2 separate regions of the Homo sapiens genome follow, and region 2 is linked to region 1. Evidence: promoter capture Hi-C in 16 types of primary human blood cells and fetal thymus (Javierre and others, 2016). All regions are on one chromosome and are shown on one strand. The core of a region is centred on a gene start or on the middle of the fragment in contact, and the rest is flanking DNA. Distances in the headings are between cores, read along the strand shown. Region 1 holds the start of MTRF1L (mitochondrial translation release factor 1 like). Region 2 overlaps SYNE1 (spectrin repeat containing nuclear envelope protein 1).

Region 1 (4,440 bases), core at 1,172-3,671:
CTCCACTAATCAATGAACACTGAATATTGAAATAATGTAAAAGACCTATTTCCCGCTAGCTTTAACCGATTTGTCATAAACACCTTTCTTGTATATGATTTTTAAATGTTTGCTAAATATTAAAAAGAATTCAATGTGTTTGGTTTTGTAAAATTACATATCGAATGTGTATAATTTTTTACTACCATGTTCATCACACTTAATCTATATCCATATATTGTACTCCACCAATATTTATCAGTGGACAATAAAGAAGTTTTGAATGCATGAATGCAACTTAAGAGGCACCACACTTGGTTATTTTGCAATGCCAGAATAACGGTGGGTATTCACAAATTGAATAGATAATCCAGATTATGTTTCCTCCAATTTAAGTTTTTCTGGGTTTTTTTTTCCCCCTTCCTAGAATCAATTTTATCATTTTACCTATGTACAATAATATACTTCTGGAAAATGCTAGAATTTTCACCATGTAACAGAATTTGAGCATGACAGTAATGTAAAAATATTCAGAAGTCTCGAACTATAGGTTTGAGTTTTCAAAGTAAATCAAAATACAGCTGTTTTCATTTTACTAGATTGTGGAAACCTATGGATGTTATTGTAAAATGCATATGCATTACACTGACTTTCTTAAAATGTTTTGAATTAATAAAGAATTCAACAATGTATCCTTAGAAAGTTACTGTTTCCTCATTGGTATATAACACTATAGGAATAAAAGGTACACTTCTATGTGTTACTTAAATTGCTTATGCACTTGGGGGAAAATAAAATTCTGGCTAGATTCTTTACATTGTTCTATAAGGTTTTAATTATTAAAATGTTTCACCTTTTATAAATAATAAAATATATTGTTGAAATGACTTATGTTCTGAGAACTCAACTGAGAGATATACCATGTTGAGTTCAAGTGATTCTCACCATTTCCATGGTTAAGATAAATTCAAAGTTAAGTTCAGACTTGGGAAACAATTGTTCTAATAGAGATAAAAACATCCTGATCAGTCCTGTTCTATCCTCAGATCAGGATTAAAATAAAATGGGTTTCAACAGCAGAACGATTGTATAAAGTTGTGTAGCTTGAATACACAAAGTGAAAAGAACTGAGATAATTAGGTGGAGCCTTTAAGTAGCAAAAAACTATTTTTGCTTCCTGATGTTTGAAGAGTCATTTCATTCTTCCACTCACTCTGCATTTGTTATCGTGCTAAGAGATGAAAAGAGAGAGGCAATGCAAACGTTATTTTCTAAGAATGTTTATACTTAACAGTTTCGATTAGATGACCTAAGGATATTTTAACCTTGATAAGGGTTCCCATTTTTTACCATTTTATTTTTTATGAATAAATTAGAAGTTTCGTACTTCTAATATATCACCTCTCTCAACAGTGAAATACCACTTAGTAGACGCTGCCCAAACCAGTTAGGTAGTGGCAGTTCTCAGATTGAGCGTTTAGCCCTTGCATTCCCAGGACTGTCTTGGTTGTGTTTATTCCCTCATATTTATTTCTCCGTTGAGCTGTGAACAGGTCTTTTGAAAAGTGCAAAGCATTGTGCCAATAAATGTCGGTATTGCTGGCACCTATCCGCTACCAGTTCTTTGGAAAGGGATGAGGGTTGGACTCCTGGAGGCAGATATCTGAAGGCTTTGTTGGGCTGTAGGTTGCTGTAACACGGAATCACTCCACCTCTTTAAAAAGCTGACGATAAGTGGGACTAAGTGAAAATGAATGGGCAGGTGAATAATAAAGTCCTTTGAAAGCAAGTAAATGACGCGGCAGATGAAGGGCACGCACGTCTATTGTGCAAATTCATTCAGTGGTTATCTCATAATACACTTATCAAGTCCTTATTACCACGAACCTCACCCACCGTGGACAAGAGAAACATAAGCAGGAAAAAAGGAGGAGGAATAAACACACGCCTGTCCATAATAAAACTCGCTCTTGAAGACTCAGCGGCAGCCCTGCACCGGAGACTGACGACTTGCGCGGCTGTGACCTCCGCCCTGCAGCGGACCCTCGACTGCCCTGCACTGCGGCTCTGGAGGCCCCGACTCAGTGCATGGGAAAGAAATCCTCACTATCAGAAAACAGAGGGGCAATCTGCTGCTCTCCCTTTCCGGCCAAACACGTCACCCATCAACCGGATACCTACCAAGAGGCTTTCAGAGGAGGCGCCCAAGGTCTCCCAGGCCCGCCCCTCCCCAATCACGCTCCGCTCAGCCCCCTCAACTTTTGGCCTCCGGGAAGTTCGCAGCGTTCTCACGCTTGGCAGGAAGTTCCCGCCAAGGCTTCCGGAAAATCCTTTAAAAAGCAACGCTTGCGCTGGGCGGGGCTTGGTGCGCTCTCACCCTTATCTCCAAATTCTGGGTGTTGTCGCGAGGGCTGCTGTGTCCGGAACTTCCGGTTCCGGTCAGGGTCCGCGATCTCGGACTAAGGATGCGGTCCCGGGTTCTGTGGGGCGCTGCCCGGTGGCTCTGGCCCCGCCGGGCCGTTGGCCCAGCCCGCCGGCCCCTGAGCTCCGGTAGCCCGCCGCTGGAGGAGCTGTTCACCCGGGGCGGGCCCTTGCGGACCTTCCTCGAGCGCCAGGCGGGGTCTGAAGCCCATTTGAAGGTCAGGAGGCCCGAGTTGCTGGCGGTGATCAAACTGCTGAACGAGAAGGAGCGGGAGCTGCGGGAGACTGAGCACTTGCTGCACGGTAAGGGTCGGGCCCGGGGGAGAGGCGTCAGAGCACATTCTTGACTCTTCGTTTGACTTTTCCACTGCCCACACTACCCGAGTTTGAAACTCTTTACTCACTTGCAGCCGTTTTTATTTTGGATCAGAGGTCAGGACATCATTACGTGCTGTGATCCCATCCTCTCCTGTGGGCTCTCTTGTGCTCCTTTGCCACGGCGCTCTGCCGCCTTTTACATGCTTATTAGTTGTGGACTCGGGCAAGAGCTCATTAGCTCAGCAAGGATAAATAAGGCACTGTCCCTGTGATGGGCTCCACAGCGGTGTTTCTCAAAGTGTGGTGTGGAGACCCATTTGCAGTAGTATCAGGGCAGTGCTTGTTAATAGCAGACTTAGGACTCAGAATCTCAGACCTATACGTGGGTAAAGGTACTAAATTGGGAAATTCAGTATGGCCTAAGTATAGAATAGGTGGGAGATGATGTCATAGAAACATGAAGCCAGAAAAATAGTTAAGAACCTTGCAAGACAAAGAATTTGGATTTATTTTTTATAGACCATGGAAAGTTAGCAAATGTTTTTAAGCAGAGAATTCACGTCTTTGTAAAGAAAAGTTAATGGTGGCATGCGCTGAGGATAAATTGGAGTATTCTCCAGAAACGCTGGTGGCTGACAGGCCAGGGAGGAGGCAGTTGAAACAATCCAAAGAAGAAATGGTGATAGGCATAGTTCTGACTCACAAAACATTTTGAGAAACAAGTTAGGATTTAGTGGCTTATGCCCTGAGAAGGATGAGGGAGAGAGTTAGTTCTAAGAAAAGTCTTAGGTTTCTGGCTTCAGCACGAGTGGTACTGTTAATTAAGATGAAAGTATAAAAGTTGGACCGAATTTTTTAAAAAGATGAGTTTTGCATTGAATGCCATATTAAGTTAAAAATACCTGTGAAAAGGAATTCCAATAAAGATATCTGTACTAGTCTAGGAGAAAAAATTACTGACATAGGAGAAAAATTGAGCCCAAATAATCATATGAGAGCTCTCGAGATATACAGTACGTGGTAAATTAAACCTTAGAAGTAGATGAGAACACTCAGGGAAAATGTGTTAAGATAGAAACAAGTCTAACAAGGCCAGAAATACACAGTATTTGAGGAGCAGGCAGAGAAGAAGGCTATAAAAGGTCAAGAAAAAAACAGCCAGAGCTTTGTGACCCTGAAGTAGATAAATAAATGAAGCTGTAGAAGCCAATAGAAAATTTCAAGAAGTAAGAGATCCTTGGCCAGGCGTGGTGGCTCACGCCTCTAATTCCAGCACTTTGAGAGGCTCAGGTGGGCCGATCACTTGAGCCCAGGAGTTCGAGACCAGCCTGGGTAACATGGCAAAACCCTGTCTCTACAAACAATGCAAAATTAGCTGGGCATGGTGGTGCGTGCCTGTGGTCCCAGCTACTTGAGAGGCTGAGGTGGGAGAATCGCTTGAACCCGGGAGGTGGAGGTTGCAGTGAGCCAAGATGGTGCCACTGCATTCCAGCCTGGGTGACAGCGCAAGACCCTGCCTCAAAAAAAAAAAAAAAAAAAAAAAATCCGTAGTACCTGACATAGAAAGGTAAAACAACCTTTTCAGCTCACACTGAAATAAGTCTTTAGATTTGGCAATTTTGTCATTGGTAACTTGAATAAAAATGGTCTTGATATGATTATAGAATCCAGTGTAACAGCTTGAGAGGTAAATTAGAGTTAACAGGAGAAAAGTTATAAAAA
Region 2 (4,715 bases), core at 770-3,269, 440 kb after region 1:
TGGGTTTATTTCTGTGCTTTCTGTTCCAATCCATGTATTGTTTTTTTATGCCAGTACCATGCAGTTTTGATCACTATAGCTATATAATATAATTTAAAATCAGGAAATATGCCTCCAGCTTTGTTCTTTTTCCTTAAAATTGCTTCATGGTCTTTGATGGTTCCATACAATTTTTAGGACTTTTTTTTCTATTTCTATTAAAAATGCCGTTGGAATTTTGATAGGAGTTACATTGAATCTGTAGATCATTTAAGGTAATATGAACATTTTGACAATATTGATTCTTGTGATCCATAAAAGGAAATATCTTTCCATGTATTTGCCTTGTCAGTTTTTTGCATCAATGCTTTATTGTTTCATTATACAGATCTTTTATCTCCTTGGTTAAATTTACTCCTAAGTATTTTATTCTTTTTTATGCTATTGTGAATAGAATATTTTTAAAATTTATTTTTTGAAAAAAATGTCTTTTTGGATAGTTCATTGTTTATGTATAGACATGCAACTGAATTTTGTTTGTTAATTTTGTACCTTATAACTTAACTAAATTTATCAGTTATAACCATTTTTTTGGTGGAGTCTAGGGTTTACTCTATTTGAGATAATGTCATCTGCAAACAAAAGTCTATGTATTCCTTTCTGATTTTGATGCCTTTTATTGCTTTTGCTTGCTTAATTGATTTGGGTAGGAATTTCAGTGTTATGTTGAATAGAACATAGCACTCTGTGAGAGTGGGCAGCCTTGTCTTTTCACTGATCTTGGAGGAAAAATGTTCAACATTTTACCATTCACTATACTATTAGTTGTAGGCTTTTCTTATGTGGTCTTTATTGTGTTGAGATACATTCCTCCTGTACCTAATTTTTTGAGTTTTTAATCATAAAATTATGTTGAGTTTTGTCAGATGCTTTTCATGCATCTATTGAGATGATCATACGACTTTTATCTTTCATTCTATTATTATGGTATATCACATTGATTAATTTGCATATAGTGAACCATTCTTGAATCTCAGGTATAAATCCCATCGACCATGGTCATGTTGAATTTGGTTTGCTAGTGTTTCATTGAGAATTTTCATGTCTATGTTTATCAGGGATATTGGCTTGTAATTTTCTTTTCTTGTATTCTTATCTGGCTTTAGTATGAGAGTAATGCTGGCCTTATAAAATGAGTGTGGAAGTGGTTCATTCTCATTAATTTTTTAAACAGTTTGGGAAAGATTGGTATTAGTTTTTCTTTAAATGTTTGATGGAATTCACACATAAAACCATCAGGTCCTGGGATTTTCTTTGTTGAAAGATTTTTTCTTACTACTTCAATCTCCTTCCTCATTATTGGCCTGCTCAGATTTTCTATTTCTTCTTCTTCTTTTATTTTTCTTTTTGAGATGGAGTCTCGCTCTGTCACACAGGCGGGAGTGCAATGGCACCATCTCAGCTCACTGCAACTTCTGCCTCCCAGGTTTAAGCGATTCTCCCACCTCAGCCTCCCGAGTAGCTGGGACTATAGGTGCATGCCACCACACCCAGCTAATTTATTTATTTATTTTTTGTATTTTTGATAGAGATGGGGTTTCACCATGTTGTTCAGGCTGGTCTTGAACTCCTGACCTCAAGTGATCTGCCCACCTCGGCCTCCCACAGTGCTGGGATTTCGGGTGTGAGCCACCATGCCCAGCCTTCTATTTCTTCTTGATTCAGTTTTGGTAGATTGTACGTGTCTGGAATTTATCCATTTCTTCTAGATTATCCAATTTGTTGATATACAATTGTTCATATATTCTCTTATGATCCCTTATATTTCTGTAGTATCAGTTGTAATATCTCTTATTTTATTTATTTGAATCTCCTCTCTTTTCTTTAGTCTAGCTAAAAGTTTGTAATTGTGTTTATCTTTTCAAAAACCAACTCTTAGTTTCATTGATTGTTTTCTCTTGTTTTCTAGTCTTGATTCCATTTATTTCTGCCCTGATCTTTGTTATTTCCTTCCTTCTCCTAAGTTTGGGCTTAGTCTTTCTCTTTTTGCTAGCTCCTTGAGGTATAAAATTAGGTTGCTTAAAATCTTTCTTTTTTTAAAAATGTAGGCATTTATTACTATAAACCATCCTCTTAGAACTTATTTTGTTGCATCTCCTAAGTTTTTGTAGGTAGTATTTCCATTTTCATTCATCTCAAGATATTTTTTGGTTTCCCTTTTATTTTTTGGCCCATTGATTGTTCAATGAATTGTTTAATTTCCACATATTTGAGAATTTTCAAATTTTCTTCATATTACTGATCTCTTGTTTTATGTTTTTTTGTGGTCAGAAAAGAGAAGACATGATTTCAACTTTCTTAAATATGATAAGAGGCCAGACAGCAATAGCTCATGCCTGTAATCACAGCATTTTAGGAGGCTGAGGTGGGAGGATTGCTTGAGGTAAGGAGTTCTAGACCAGCCTGGGCAACACAGTGAGACCCTGTCTCTACAAAAAAATTTTAAAACATTAGCTGGGCATTGTGGCACTCAGCTGTAATCCCAGCAGCTACTCAGGAGGCTGAGGTGGGAGGATTGCTTGAGCCCAGGAGTTCTAGGCTACAGTGAGTGCCACTGCACACTAGCCCAAGCAACAGTGAGTGCCACTGCACTCTAGCCCAGGCAACAGTGAGTGCCACTGCACTCTAGCCCAGGCAACAGTGAGTGCCACTGCACTCTAGCCCAGGCAACAGATGCGACCCTCTCTCTAAAAATAAATAAATAAATAAATAAATAAATAAATAAATAAATAAATAAAAATTAAATATGTTAAGACTTGTTTTGTGGTCTAATATATTAATATATTATCTATCCTGGAGAATTGTCTGTGTGCACTTGAAAATAATGTGTATTCTGCTGTTGCTGGATGGAATATTCTATATACATCTGTTACATTGTTTAGGTTTATAGTGTTCTTCAAATGTATTGTTTCCTTGTTGAGTTTCTGTCAGGATGATCTATCCATTGTCAAACGTGAAGTACTGAAATCTGCTACTATTAATCATATTGCTGTTTATTTCCTTCGATTCTGTTAGCATTCATTTTATATATTTAGGTGCTCCGATGTTGGGTAAATATATACTTACATTATTATGTGCTCTTGATGAATTGATCCTTTTGTCATTATATAATGATCTTCTTTGTCTCTTTTGACAGTGTTTGACTTAAAATCTACATTGTGCGATATAAGGATAGCCATCCTTGTTCTCCTTTGGTTACCATTTACATGGAATTTCTTAATCCATAACTTTACTTTCAGACTATGTGCTTCCTTAAAGCTAAAGTGAATCTCTTGTAGGCAGCATATAGTTTGATCTTATACTTTTTAATCCATTTGGCCACTCTTTGTCTTTTGATTAAAGAATTTAGTCTATTTACTTTTAAGATAATTATTGGTAGGCAAGGACCCAGTACTGACAAACTGTTGTTTTCTATTTTGGAGTTACTTTATTCCGTTCTTCCTCTCTTGCCATCCTCTTGTGATCTGATGATTTTTTTTGTGGTGGTATGTTTTAATTCCTTTATCTTTATGTATCTACTTACAGATTTTTTCTTTGTGGTAACATGAGGCTTACATGAAACCTCTTATAGTTATAATAGTCTGCTTTAAGCTGGTAACAATTTAACTTTGACTGCAAACAAAAACTACACTTTAACTTCTCCTCTCCCCATGTTTTATATTATTAATGTCACAATTTACATCTTTTTATATTGTGTACCCATTAACAAATTGTTGTAGCTTTAGTTGTCTTTAATACTTTTGTCTTTTAACTTTTATATCAAAGTGACTTGTATGGCACCATTACAGTATTAGGATATTGTGAATTTGACTATATGTTACCTTTACAATGAGATTTTACTTTCATATATTTTCATTTTGTTAATTAGCTTTCTTTTATTTTAACTCAAAGAACTCTAACATTAATTTTTTGTAAGGTAGTTCTAGTAGGGACTAACATCCACAGTTTTTGTTTATCTAGGAAGGTCTTTATCACTCCTTCATTTCTTAAAGACAGCTTTTCTGGATATAGTATTATTGGTTGACAGTATTTTTCCCCCACCAGCACTTTGATTATATTATCCCACTTTCTCCTGGCCTGCAAGTCTCTACTGAGAAAACTGCTTGTAATCTTACGGAGTTTCCCTTATACATAACAAATCACTTTTCTCTAGTTGCTTTCAAAATTTTTTGTCTTTGACTTTTGAAAATTTGATTATAATGTATCTTGGTGAAGATCTCTTTATGTTTAATCTTTTTAGGGCTCTTGGTATTCATGGATATTAATGTTTATTTCCCAGTCTAGATTTGGGAAGTTTTCTAACATTATTTTTTTTAAACAAGCTTTCTTCTTCTTTCTCCATCTCTGCTTCCTCTGAAACTCACATAATATGTATATTGATTAGCTTCATGGTGTTTCATATGTTCCATAGGCTTTCTTCTCCCCTTTTCATCCTTTTTTTCCATTCTTGATCCTCTGACTGAATAATGTCAAGCCTGTCTTCAAGCTTTCTGATTCTTTCTTCTATTTGATTGAACCTACTGTCGAAGCTGTCTATGCAATTTTTTTCAGTTCAGTTATTGTGTTCGTCAGCTCCAGAATTTTTGTTTTGTTCTTTTGTATGGTTTCTGTCTCTCTGTTGAACTTCTGATTTTTTTCAGGTGTTGTTTCCTGATTTGGGTTAGCTGCCTTTCTGT

The links. Contacts are between HindIII fragments. The CHiCAGO score rates a contact against its expected background, and 5 or more counts as called.
Region 2: a contact is called between a fragment that was not itself captured here and the fragment with the promoter of MTRF1L in region 1, in 1 of 17 cell types (neutrophils). The highest score is 5.5, in neutrophils.

What each region holds. Positions count from the first base shown.
Region 1 is chr6:153,000,690-153,005,129 of GRCh38, reverse strand. It overlaps MTRF1L (mitochondrial translation release factor 1 like), which reads left to right and starts at 2,421. Exons shown (of 7, transcript NM_019041.7): 1 at 2,421-2,703. The coding sequence starts at 2,445. It overlaps RGS17 (regulator of G protein signaling 17), which reads left to right. Exons shown (of 5, transcript NM_012419.5): 5 at 1-671. RefSeq lists enhancers at 2,064-2,173, 1,264-2,264 and silencers at 2,494-2,603, 2,614-2,673. The HindIII fragment of the contact is 13,608 bases long and covers 1-4,440 here.
Region 2 is chr6:152,557,039-152,561,753 of GRCh38, reverse strand. All of the region lies in intron 3 of SYNE1 (spectrin repeat containing nuclear envelope protein 1), which reads left to right. Among named protein-coding and RNA genes, the nearest start is that of SYNE1, 78 kb to the left of the region's middle. The HindIII fragment of the contact is 4,689 bases long and covers 1-4,363 here.